Linked DNA regions of Homo sapiens: region 1 is linked to region 2. The links are contacts of gene promoters, found by promoter capture Hi-C in blood cells and fetal thymus (Javierre and others, 2016). All regions are on one chromosome and are shown on one strand. Each heading gives the region's core, a stretch centred on a gene start or on the middle of the fragment in contact. The rest is flanking DNA. Distances are from core to core; before and after follow the strand shown.

What was found. Contacts are between HindIII fragments. The CHiCAGO score rates a contact against its expected background, and 5 or more counts as called.
Region 1: a contact is called between the fragment with the promoter of TACR2 here and the fragment with the promoter of SRGN in region 2, in 3 of 17 cell types (erythroblasts, fetal thymus and M0 macrophages). The highest score is 12.2, in erythroblasts.

What each region holds. Positions count from the first base shown.
Region 1 is chr10:69,413,860-69,419,906 of GRCh38, reverse strand. TACR2 (tachykinin receptor 2) reads left to right here and starts at 2,989. Exons shown (of 5, transcript NM_001057.3): 1 at 2,989-3,975; 2 at 4,768-4,962. The coding sequence starts at 3,584. RefSeq lists enhancers at 1,440-1,734, 2,485-3,219. The HindIII fragment of the contact is 12,893 bases long and covers 1-6,047 here.
Region 2 is chr10:69,086,237-69,092,337 of GRCh38, reverse strand. It overlaps SRGN (serglycin), which reads right to left and starts at 4,235. Exons shown (of 3, transcript NM_002727.4): 1 at 4,102-4,235. The coding sequence starts at 4,180. RefSeq lists a silencer at 2,027-2,206 and enhancers at 2,905-4,104, 5,752-5,921. The HindIII fragment of the contact is 21,371 bases long and covers 908-6,101 here.

The DNA.
Region 1 (6,047 bases), core at 1,740-4,239, 330 kb before region 2:
CGCGATGCTGTCTGTGACCTCTGAAGCTAGGGCCCAGAGCAGCCTCCCAAACAGAGATAGGCCACTCTCAAGAGCATCCCCCAGGCGCTGATAGCAACGCCTCATCCACAGTGCTTTCTGGAGCCGCCTTTCCTCTCCCACCCACTTCTCTCACACACCACAGCTCTCCCACCTTTTCTTCCTCAAACTCCCTGGAAGATCATTCCTCTCCCAACTCTGGTCTTTAAGCCTCTAGCCCAGAGGTCACAATTACACCAACCAGCAAGGCACAGTTGCCAGCGCACGCCCGTCTGAAGGAGTGGCTGCTGTCTAGCTGTGTGGACGTTGCCCTGCGCTTCCCAGGCCCCCTTCAAGCTGCCGGGCAGGCATATAGTACCAGCACCATGTTTAGCGTCCCCGACTGCAGGCCTCGCCTCAACTGCCTTGACAACAATCACATGATTTCTTGGGGTGGCCCACGTCCAGTGACCAATGTGGAAATATAAAGGCCTGGTTAACTTTGCCCCACACGGGGCAACTCTGAAGCTATCCCAGTTCCAATTACCCATGGGGTTACCAAGGCTATTGTAGGCCTGGACCACAGCACGATGCCGTGCTTCAGCCACACTTGCTTCCTGCCTTGTCTGCTGCCCCAAGTGTTGACCCCAGTGGTAGCTCCCTGAGAAACAGCTGGTGTGTTTCTTACACAGCAGGGTCTGCTTCCTGGATGCACGCAACTGGCACCATCAGCTCAGGTGTGCGATTACAGGTGTGAGCCACCGTGCCCGGCATTTTTTTTTCTCCTTTAAAAGGACTGGCCTTCCAGGCGCAGTGGCTCATGCCTGTAATCCCAGCACTTTGGGAGGCTGAGGCAGGTGGATCACCTGAGGTCAGGAGTTCAAGACCACCCTGACCAACATGGTGAAACCCTGTCTACTAAAAAAATACAAAAATTAGCCAGGTGTGGTGGCATACACCTGTAATCCCAGCTACTTAGGAGGCTGAGGCAGGAGAATCGCTTGAACCCAGGAGGCGGAGGTTGCAGTGAGCCAAGATCGTGCCATTGCACTCCAGCCTGGGCGACACTGTGAGACTCCATCTAAAATAATAAAATAAAATAAGGACTGGCCTTCGGGATCGCTGTCTAGCTATGGACTCAGAAGGCCAGTGCCAAGCAGCAAAGCTGATCAGGAACCCCTTCATCCTGGGTGGCCCGCATCTTCCCCTTTCACGAGGCTTCAAACCATAGCACATAGTTGGAAGGCTGCAAGAGCAGATAATTTAAGGGGAAAATAAAAACTCAGATGTACAAGCTCCAAAACATAATCCCCTTTACATAAACAGTGGAGGTGGCGGGATGTTGTGGGGAGGAAGGAACTTGAACTCTGCTGGGCTTCTGTGACTGGTGACAGGCGCTCAGGCATCCCAGCCCTGCACTGGGTTTGCACCTGAAGCTCAACAAATTCCCACTGCCTGGGAGCAGGAGGACAGCAAAAAGAGCAGGCTGTCTTGGGCTTCCATTCTTATTTCTACACATTCTGCTCTTTAGGACCCTGGCCAGATGGGCATGAGACAGAAGCAAACCCTAAAGTACTGCTACTGTTGCCGCCACCAACAGAGATCAAAGGCAGAGACCCTTCTGCTAGGGTCCAAAGTCCAAACAGGCCACTCCAGAGAGGAAACAGGCACACAGGCACACACCCACGGGAGGAGTAGGGGCCCAGGAAGCACTCCCTCCCCAAGGGCAAGGATGGGGTTCCCATTCGACCCAGCACATGCTCCTCACATCTGCACAGCAGGGAGACCAAACAATAGATACAATTTCAGTGTTGATTGTCGATGAACTTACCCAGAAGTTCATAATCAGAAAAATCCATAAAGAAGCTCTTTCAATTTCAGCATGTTTAAGTTTCATGACTTATGGTTTAGTGTTGTTTTTATATTGGATTCCATGGGTGGCATAATCTTTTCAGCACTAGAGACCTTTAAAGGTCTTTCTCAGCTCACCCCGGGAGACAAGGGCTGGGTGTCAGGAAAGTGACACACAGGGAGAAGCAGAAAATGGACTGGGAGTGTGGGGGCCGAGGCCCAGCCACGAGAAACCCAGGCGGTGCAAGGCAGAGCCCTGGGAGCACAGAGGCTGCTGTGCCGTGGGTTGCTGGTGAATGAGAAGCCTCCTCTGCTTTAATGAAGAACATGCCCCCCCGACTCCCGCTAATCCTGCCCTGCCTTCATGGTCCACACACCACAGGTGTGCACAGGTTCATGCGTGTGTGTGAGCTTAACACGTCAGCCGCACATACAGTTGCTCAGAAACATCTTCACTGCTTCACACACGTGCACACAGTCAATGACCAGGAGCAGGGATCTTGGGGCAAACCTAGAGCAGCTTCTCAGGAGTTAAAACTCCAGCTTTGCTGTGGTTCCCGGAAGAGCCCTGACTTTGTCCTAAGACAGTGGTTCTCAAAGTGAAGTGCTGGCTCCAGCAGCATCAGTATCACCTGGGAACTCGCTGGAAACGCTCCGGGTTCTGGCTTCTCCTCCTAGAGCGCCCAGAGCTGTGGGGTCCTCCCTTCGGGCCAGAAACTCCAATCATAGTTTTTATGTACCAACCCCTGTGCTAAGTAGACTTTGTGCACATTATCTCCATTTAAAATTCACAAATGTACTGTAAGATGCACACCATTTTTCTATATTTTTCAGATGGGGTAGACAGAGCTCAGAAAGGTTAAGAGACTTGCCTGGAGTCACCAAACCAGGCTCGAACTCCTTCTGTATTCAGAATCACTCTTCAGACGTAGCTCCTGTCCTGGGCTGAAAGTCAACATCCGCCGAGAGCTGGGCCCTCTGTACCAGCCCCATCTCCCCCAAGTCTCTCCCTGCCTCTGCAGCCAGTCCTAAATCTTTCAAGAGACAAGGCCAAGCAGGGGGTGGGACCAGGGGCGGGAGCCAAAGCCCCCCCTCGTGAGCAGGCAGCACCTCTGCCAAGGCCCCCACTGGCCCTGCCCCAGAGAACGGCAGGGAAGCTGCAGCGAGGGCTGGCAGCTGGCAGAGCCCTGAGCACCCAGCACCCAGCCCGGCTTGCAGCCCAAAGCCTGGAGAGAGGCTGCTGCGCCATTGACCTGTGGACTCCAGAGACTCCCGCTGTGCATTCCTCTGATCTGGAAGGTTTCCTGAATTACGTGACGAGAAACCTGGGTTCGAGTCCTAACTTGTCACCAACTTCCTGAGTGACCTGGGCTGGTCCCGTCCCCTCTTGGAATCTCTGTCTTCCATCTCTTCAGCGAAGGGGTTGATTTATAAGGGTGTTTTCTGCTCTGACACTGTGATTTGAATTCTGTGTTTCCACATGATATTCGAGAAGTCTGGCCGGAAGGATGGAATCTGAAATGACAATGGTTCTGGACTGGGCTTTGTGCTCAGCCCAGCTCATCTTTGCCTGAGACCTAGGAGTGGCCCCAGGCTCTCCTGATGTGCCACCACGCTTGGCATCTGCTCCTCTCCCTGCCCCCATATTCCCATGCTCTGAAGGGGAGTTCTCTTTCATAGCAAATCCGAGAGGAGCCGAGGAGCCAGGTCCTTTGTTCCAGACCCAGAAGCAGCCATGGGGACCTGTGACATTGTGACTGAAGCCAATATCTCATCTGGCCCTGAGAGCAACACCACGGGCATCACAGCCTTCTCCATGCCCAGCTGGCAACTGGCACTGTGGGCCACAGCCTACCTGGCCCTGGTGCTGGTGGCCGTGACGGGTAATGCCATCGTCATCTGGATCATCCTGGCCCATCGGAGGATGCGCACAGTCACCAACTACTTCATCGTCAATCTGGCGCTGGCTGACCTCTGCATGGCTGCCTTCAATGCCGCCTTCAACTTTGTCTATGCCAGCCACAACATCTGGTACTTTGGCCGTGCCTTCTGCTACTTCCAGAACCTCTTCCCCATCACAGCCATGTTTGTCAGCATCTACTCCATGACCGCCATTGCTGCCGACAGGCAAGAGGGTCCTTGGGGAAGCTGGGGGGAGCCTCCCCACTGAGCCGGGGCTCAGATAAGGGTGGTGACATGCCTGTGATTACACAGCAAGTTTGGGTAGAACCATGGGAATGGCTTCCCAAATCTGGTCATGGTCCAAAACTATGAATCTGGAAGGCAGGGGGACTGTGGAGCTGAAGAAGGTAGACTGAGGGTTAGACACAGAGAAGGACTTTGCACTAGATGCACTAGACAGGTTGTTCAAGTCTGTAGGGGAAGTGGGCAATGTTTTAGCGACCTTCTGAAGTGTTCTTTCCTGGAGTTGATCTTTGTTTTGTTGTCTTTATTTCACTCCAAAGATATGTCTTATACAGTTTTTTTTTTATTATTCCGGATAGATTACACGAGGGGAAAATGTTAAGTTTGCTTGCAGTTACAATCTAATAGGGCCAATTATTTTCCCAACGCTGCTCAGGGCTGAGCTTCAGGCTAATGTTGGATGCTTGATCTTGCCCTGAGATGGGCTTCCAGTGTGGCTTTCTTGTGGCCGTCCACGGGCATGTCCATGCCCAGAGGGAAATGGTGGGCCGAGGTGCCTGGGCCGGGGTTCCAAGGCATCAGTGTGCTGTGTGGCTGTGGGAGAGTCACCCAGCGGGCTCTCTGCAGGTCGGCTGATACTATGATATCAGCAGATGGCAGCAGTGCGGGGAATGGCTAGAAGGCGTGGGCCTGGGTTGGGAGAGAGGGAGACAGGGGAAAGGGAGCTGGGCTAACAGGAGGGCCCCTGCCGCTCAAGCTGCCCTCTGCTCACAGGTACATGGCCATCGTCCACCCCTTCCAGCCTCGGCTTTCAGCTCCCAGCACCAAGGCGGTTATTGCTGGCATCTGGCTGGTGGCTCTCGCCCTGGCCTCCCCTCAGTGCTTCTACTCCACCGTCACCATGGACCAGGGTGCCACCAAGTGCGTGGTGGCCTGGCCCGAAGACAGCGGGGGCAAGACGCTCCTCCTGTAAGGCCTCTGGGGGATTGTGGAGGGCAACAGTGTGTGTGTGTGAGTCTGTGTGTGTGTGTGTACACACGCGTGCATGCATCCATGTCCATGCATGTGTGGTGTGCATGCATGGGTGTACACATGAGTGAGTGTACACGGGATTGTGTGAATATACCTATATGCTTAGTAAGCAACACACACGATGTAGCCGATCTGTTTTTCACACTTTACATATATTGACCCATTTAATTCTCCTAACTATGTGGGATATATATTATATTATTATTCTTACCATTTTTTAGATGAAGAAACTGAGGCACTGAAAAACTAAGTAACATGCCCAAAACCACACAGCTAGTAATTCAAATCCAGCTAGTCATTTGAATCCAGCTATGGATTCAAATCTAAGCAATCCTGCCCAGGGCCCAATCTCCTCACCACTCTGCTACTCAAATATGCACCCTTGCATCCTTAGATAAGGATATGCATGCATGCACACGTGTATGTGACTGTACATGTCACGTGAACATGCGGCACCCATTTCTGCCTGTGTGTACACGTGCAAGTGTGTGGGCATATTTGTAGATGTGTTTGCACACAGGCACGTGTTAGGGACATGTGTAGGCGTGTGTCTGGGGGAGACTCTCTATATGCTCAGGCCACAAAGCGGCAGGAGACTGAGGCAGAACGAGTCCATGATGGAGCCTGGGACATTTTCAGGCTGCTGAGGTGGGCATCACAGGCTGGAGGCAGGGAGGGCAGGGTTAGAGGAATTCAGGCATGGCCCAGCTGCTGTGTGACCCTGGGTGAGTCCTTTCTCCATTCCGGCCTCAGTTTCTGAGGATCTCACGATGTGTCTTTGTGGTCCCCAGGCACTGAGCCATTGCTTGGTAGAGGCTAAAGAACCGACTGGGGTTCTGGGCTCAGTCAGGCCCAAGTCGTGGCCTGGTCCCACGTGGCCGGAGGATGCCTCACACTCACGTAACCTCTGAACCTCTGGCTTTCTCTCTCTAAAATGAGGATTCATAATAGTACCTCGCTCTGTGAGCATAAATGAGATAGTGTACCTGAAGCCCTTAGCACCATGCCTGGCACAGAACTGG
Region 2 (6,101 bases), core at 2,986-5,485:
ACAGACACTAAATTCTTGACATAGCTATTCAAGGGTGTTGGCAGGATGTGAAAATTTACAGTTCCAGCCCCTGAGGTTGTGAGAGTATCTTGACTCTATCTTGCTTGAGATAAATGTCTTGTGATTATAGTGGCTATGCTCATGGATAGAAATGTTATCTTCCTAAAAGGTCCACTTATGGGATTTGTTGGTTAATTGTGTAGTGGATTCCAAGGGAAAGAATGGTTTTTATTTGAATCCTATCCCTCACTGCCCACCTCCCCCACCACCCTGAGTCCTGCTTTACCAAAATACTTTCTATGAGTAAATGTTACCAAAGCAAACAACTTTCTCCAATAGTCCATACCTTTTTATATTATGGTACTAACTTTTCCCTCAACATAATCACAATATACTAATTTCTTTTTTTTTTCTTTTCTTTTCTTTTTCTTTTTTTTTTTTTTTTTTTTTTTTTTTTTGAGACAGAGTCTCAGTCTATCGCCCAGGCTGGAGTGCAGTGGCATGATCTTGGCTCACTGCAACCTCCATCTCCCTGGTTCAAGTGATTCTCCTGCCTCAGCCTCTCGAGTAGCTGGGATTACAGGTGCATGCCACTATGCCTGGCTAATTTTTGTATTTTTAGTAGAGATGGGGGTTTCACCATGTTGGCCAGGCTGGTCTTGAACTCCTGACCTCAAGTGATCCACACTCCTCGGTCTCCCAAAGTGCTAAGACTACAGACGTGAGCCACTGTACCGAGCCTAATTTCCTATTCTTAATGGAAACTTACTGCAGGCATGTTAGAGAAACTTAAGCAGCAACTACCATGAAGGGGAAAAGAAGACCATTTGATTTATTCAAAATGGTAGCATTATCTAAGCCGGAGTTACTTCCTCCTGGTCTATCAATTCCACAAGATGGATAAGCTTCCCCCACTCTTGCATGGTTTGACAAGCTATAAAAAGCTCCTAAGTTTACTTTCAATTTCTCCCTCAACTCAGTGGGAAACGTTATAGCAAGGGCTACGGTCAAAGGATTTTTTGTTTGTTTGTTTAAATAAAGAAAACCTCTGATCCATGAGCTGCAGTAGAAAGTTAATTCTGGCCTTGAAATCAGACGACCAGTTCAGCCGTTAATTAGTTGTAATGGGTCTTGGGCAAGACTCACAAATTTTTTGCAAGAGGTTAATGTATAGAGCAAATGAGATGAGAAATGTCAGATCCAGTTTTCTCCTCTATAATTGGTGCTAATTCCTCATCACAGGGAATGTGATGATGATTACCAGAGAATGGATGTGAAATCACTTTACAAAGAGCAGCACAAGGAGTGGATCAGTATCATTCCTGTGAGCTAGGAGACAGTATACAGTGGACACATGGCGGGCCTGGCCTCCTTGGCTGCACCTGTTCATGGATATTCCATTTTTTTTCTTTATGGGTGTCATTGGAAAAGAGAGGCAATAAAAGTGGAAGATTCACAGGCCTCATCAAATCCCCTGGAGCCCTACATTAAATAGATTAGTCATCTGTGCTCTCCAGAGTTACACATCCCCAAATTTCCATTTCTTTGTGCTTGGTAAACACAATCTTACCCCACATCTTTACTTGGGTTTGACTTATAATAAAAATATACCACCACCAAATTCATATGTTCCAGTTCTAACCCACAGAATCTCACAATGTGAAATTGTTCAGAAATAGGGTCATTGCAGATATAGGTAGTTAAGATGAGGCCATTAGGGTGGCCCTGATCCAATGCCTGGTGACCCTCTAAGAAGATGGTATTAAGACACGGATGCATGGAGGAAAGGCCATGTGCAGACAAGGGAGAAGGCGCCATCTATAAGCCAAGGAGAGAGGCCTCAGAATGCGATCGACCCTGCCAGCACCTTGATCTTGGACTCCCATCTCCAGAACTGTGAGGAAATACATTTCTGTTATTTAAGCCACTCAGTCCGTGGTACTTTGTTATGGCAACCCGAGCAAACCACTATAGTGACCTGAAATGGTTTTGAATATGCTCAGTAAAAGCAAGCCAAAAGCCTAGTTGATTTCATCTGCCAAACCAACGGGCTAGATAAACACTTTTTATAAGACAGGAAGAATGTTGTCGAATCATATCTGGCATTGCGTGGAGGTGTGAGGAAATGGTGTCACGACTCTTCACATCACAGCCTTGTGCCGCAGTCACTCACATGTGCAGCCAGTGGGGGACATCTATTTCCCTGCATGCTCAGATGTGGGCACAAGCCCTTGAGCCCGATACTGAGAGCCTTTTTTCGGAAACACCCTAGTTTGTCAGTTTCTCCCTTGTCTCTTTCTATGGTTTCCTTTTCTAACAAAGAGCTAAACCTACGAGGTCATGACATAAATGCTAGTATTCTATACAATTTCATGATGAATTATTTTCTTTCCTTCTCTTTCTTTCTTTCCTTTCTTTCTCTCTCTCTCTCTTTCTTTCTTTCTGACAGAGTCTTGCACTGTCACCTAGGCTGTAGTACAGTGGTGCAATCTCAGCTCACTGCAACCTCCACCTCCCAGGTTCAAGCAATTCTCCTGCCTCAGCCTCCTGAGTAGCTGGGATGACAGGTGTGTGCCACCATGCCCGGCTAATTTTTTTGTATTTTTGGTAGAGACGGGATTTCACTATGTTGGCCAGGCTGGTCTCAAACTCCTGACCTCATGATCTGCCTACCTTGGCCTCTCAAAGTGCTGGGATTACAGGCGTGAGCCACCATGCCCGGCCTTCTTCATTTCTTTCTAATGAATATTATACAAGGAACGTTTTTGTTTTCATTCTAGTTTTCCTTAATGAATCTTAGTGGGAAATTCATGTTTCTGGGAAATTTTGACAACATAAAGACTTACATATCTCTGGTTGGGGTATGCCCAGCACCATCTGGCCATTCAAGACTGTACTAAAGTATGGGCCTCATTACTCTCGATCTTGTCAGACCACTTGGCTATTCGGGAATTATTTCATCAAGCTGAAGATATTCCCTAAAAGATCCCAGTGAAGCCTGTTCCCTACAATTGACAATGTTTTATATTTTAAAAATACATAAATTAATAACGTTCCAGAAACATTACTTGCTCTTTTTTCAGCATTAGCATAACTAGAAGAAAATGATTTTATAAATTTCCAACATAAAATGAATGTCTCTGCGATCATCTGTAAGATTTCATCTCCACCGGAAGTAAGATCATGACAACCAAAAGTCGCTTTGACGAAACAAATCTAGGACATGTGTGTCATTGTGACTCAACATTTCCCTTACCATTTGGCGGAACCTAGTGTTTTTCTACTATAGGTTCAGCCATCTCTCTATCAAGCCATGACCTCCGTCTTATTTAGACATGATTCCTTATTTGCCAAAGAATAACAAATTGTATTTTTCTTACAAGCCTATCATTTTCATTGTCTTAGTCATTACAGGTTTTAAGTTGTTTCAGTCTGACTAAACAACACTAAATGGTAGATAAACCTAGGAAGATATTTCCGAATATGATGCTTCTCTGAGCAAGAGCACAAATACCAAATTATTTGGCCTTCTCTTTAAAATCTGAGAGGTTTTACATGAACTATGTCTAACCATAATTGAGTTTTCAGTAAGAACCAAGTTTATCTTTAAAAAAAAAAAAAAGAAAAGAAAATACACACAGTCAGATTCACCCCAATTGGAATATAACGTCTCCCAGTGTTAAAATAACAATGACACCGTCACAGCGCACTAAAACTTGGGGCTGATGTAGACACTTAGGGGTAGGCAGACACCCCCCAACAGTCAAAGGTGCCATCTCCTCCATGCAACAGGCACAGGAGTCATTTTCTAGATTCCTTTTTTGAGCTTTTAAAATTTATAAACCTCACATTTTCATCCCAAAATAGCACATTTCAATCATTGTAAGAGTTTACAAGACTGCACACGCCACAGAGTTTAATTTTTCTTGGTACCAAACTTAACAGAACTCATATTAAAGGGTTCAGCGACCCCAAATCCTTCTTCTTTGCCTCCTTTCTCACAATATTATACATTCTATGCCTTAAAATGAATATAATGACTTGCATGGACCACAGGGCTTACAGAGAAGATGGCTGGGGAACAAGACTCCTGAGTCTTACCTTGAACTGAGGATTCCAGAACCAGGATGAGGGCAAGAGCCAGGACAAGCCGACTGCATTTGAGTAGCTTCTGCATCATGACCAACTTAGTCTAGCTCTCCCAGCTGCACGCCAACTTCTTGATTAGGAAATGTAGCAGGGTGCTCTCTGTCCCTTTTAGAAAATGTTCCAAAACCTCAAACCCTGCCCAGAACACACGTCACAATTTCCTGAACAAATAGAAAGACATCCACATCAAAACCCAGAAAGAAAGGGGGTGGGGGGAACACAGTAAAATAACTATTCATACCCATTATGAAACTGTACTGGACTCCCCCCAGGCCTGCTTTTTCAAAAGTTTTGTTGTTTGCCACTTGCCTGCAAGACATTTTTTTTTCCCACCGAAACAGTAGAATCAGCATTTGGGACAGTTTGTTTTTCCTTTCTTCAGGTAACAATCTAAACACTAGATTGCTAATATTAAGAATCTGCTGCATTTTTTATGAGATAAGGGATCTAGGTGCTGCCTTTTCGTCACCAAGCACTTTCAACATAAAACATTCTCTTCATTTTCTTTTTCACCGGGGAGTAACATACCTCACTGAGCCAAGCTCGTGAAGTGAAACTTCAAAGCTGAGCTCTAACCTTCAAGAATGAGTTGTCGGATTTCAGATGAACAGTTTCTTCTTCTTCTTTTTCTTCTTTTTTTTTTTTTTTTTTTTTTTTTTGAGATGGAGTCTCACTCTGTCACCCAGGCTGGAGAGCAGTGGCGCGATCTCAGCTCACTGCAACCTCCATCTCCAGGGTTCAAGCAATTCTCCTGCCTCAGCCTCCTGAGTAGCTGGGATTACAGGCGTACACCACTGCGCTGGACTAATTTTGTATTTTTAGTAGAGACGACGTGTCACCATGTTGGCCAGGCTGGCCTCAAACTCCCAACCTCAGGCCATCCGCCTGCCTCAGCCTCCCAAAGTGCTGGGATTACAGGCGTGAGCCACCGTGCCCAGCAAACAGTTTCTTCTTAAACTCAGTTTCTTGCATTGGATCATTGGCTCTCTCTCTATCTCAAGAACATAGGATTTTCAGTTACAAAGACTGTGGTAAAACAGAAAAACTATTTTGCATTCCCCTCTCCTTCACATTGAGCATTTCTTAAGATGGATTCCATTTCTATTTTTATCTGTTCTCCTAGTCAAAATTTTCAACTCGAGTTTTGGGTCCTCTGGCCTTGAATAAGCCAGAAATCAGGAACGAGGGAGAGGTTGTCCTCACAGTGAGCTGCTGGACCTCAGCAAACAACACAAACCTCTGCCTCATGTAAATAAAGGAACAGCATTTTCCCTGGGCATGGTGCAGATTTCTGGAGGACTAAGGCTCCATATTAAAGTTATACAATAAAGGCCAGGTGCTGTGGTCCACACCTGTAATCCCAGCACTTTGGGAGGCTGAGGTGGGTGGATCACAAGGTCAGGAGATCGAGACCATCCTGGCTAACACCGTGAAACCCCGTCTCCACTAAAAATACAAAAAATTAGCCGGGCGTGGTGGCGAGTGCCTGTAGTCCCAGCTACTCGGGAGGCTGGGGTAGGAGAATCGCTTGAACCCGGGAGGCAGAGGTTGCAGTGAGCCAAGATCGTGCCATTGCACTCCAGCCTGGGTGACAGAGAGAGACTCTATTTCAAAAAACTAAAAATAATAAAATAAAATAAAATAAAGTTATACAATAAATACAAGCCTATCATACATCCTTGCCCTTGTGGCATATACATTTTCCTTACTTCCTTTCAAGATTCAACCACTCTCCATTTCAACATGTCTATCCCTACCGCTCCCCCAGACGGCTTAATGCACGTGCCCCACTTTCCATTCTCATCCTCGCCCTTGCCTGGCCTTTGATAGGAGGGAGGAGTTTCCCTTCCCTTGTTTTAGGCTTCCTGCTGATTCCTTTACCATTTCCTGCTAAGGACAGAGTCTCACAGTCTAATAGCCGTGGTGCAAGAACACAAAGAGTGTACATTTTG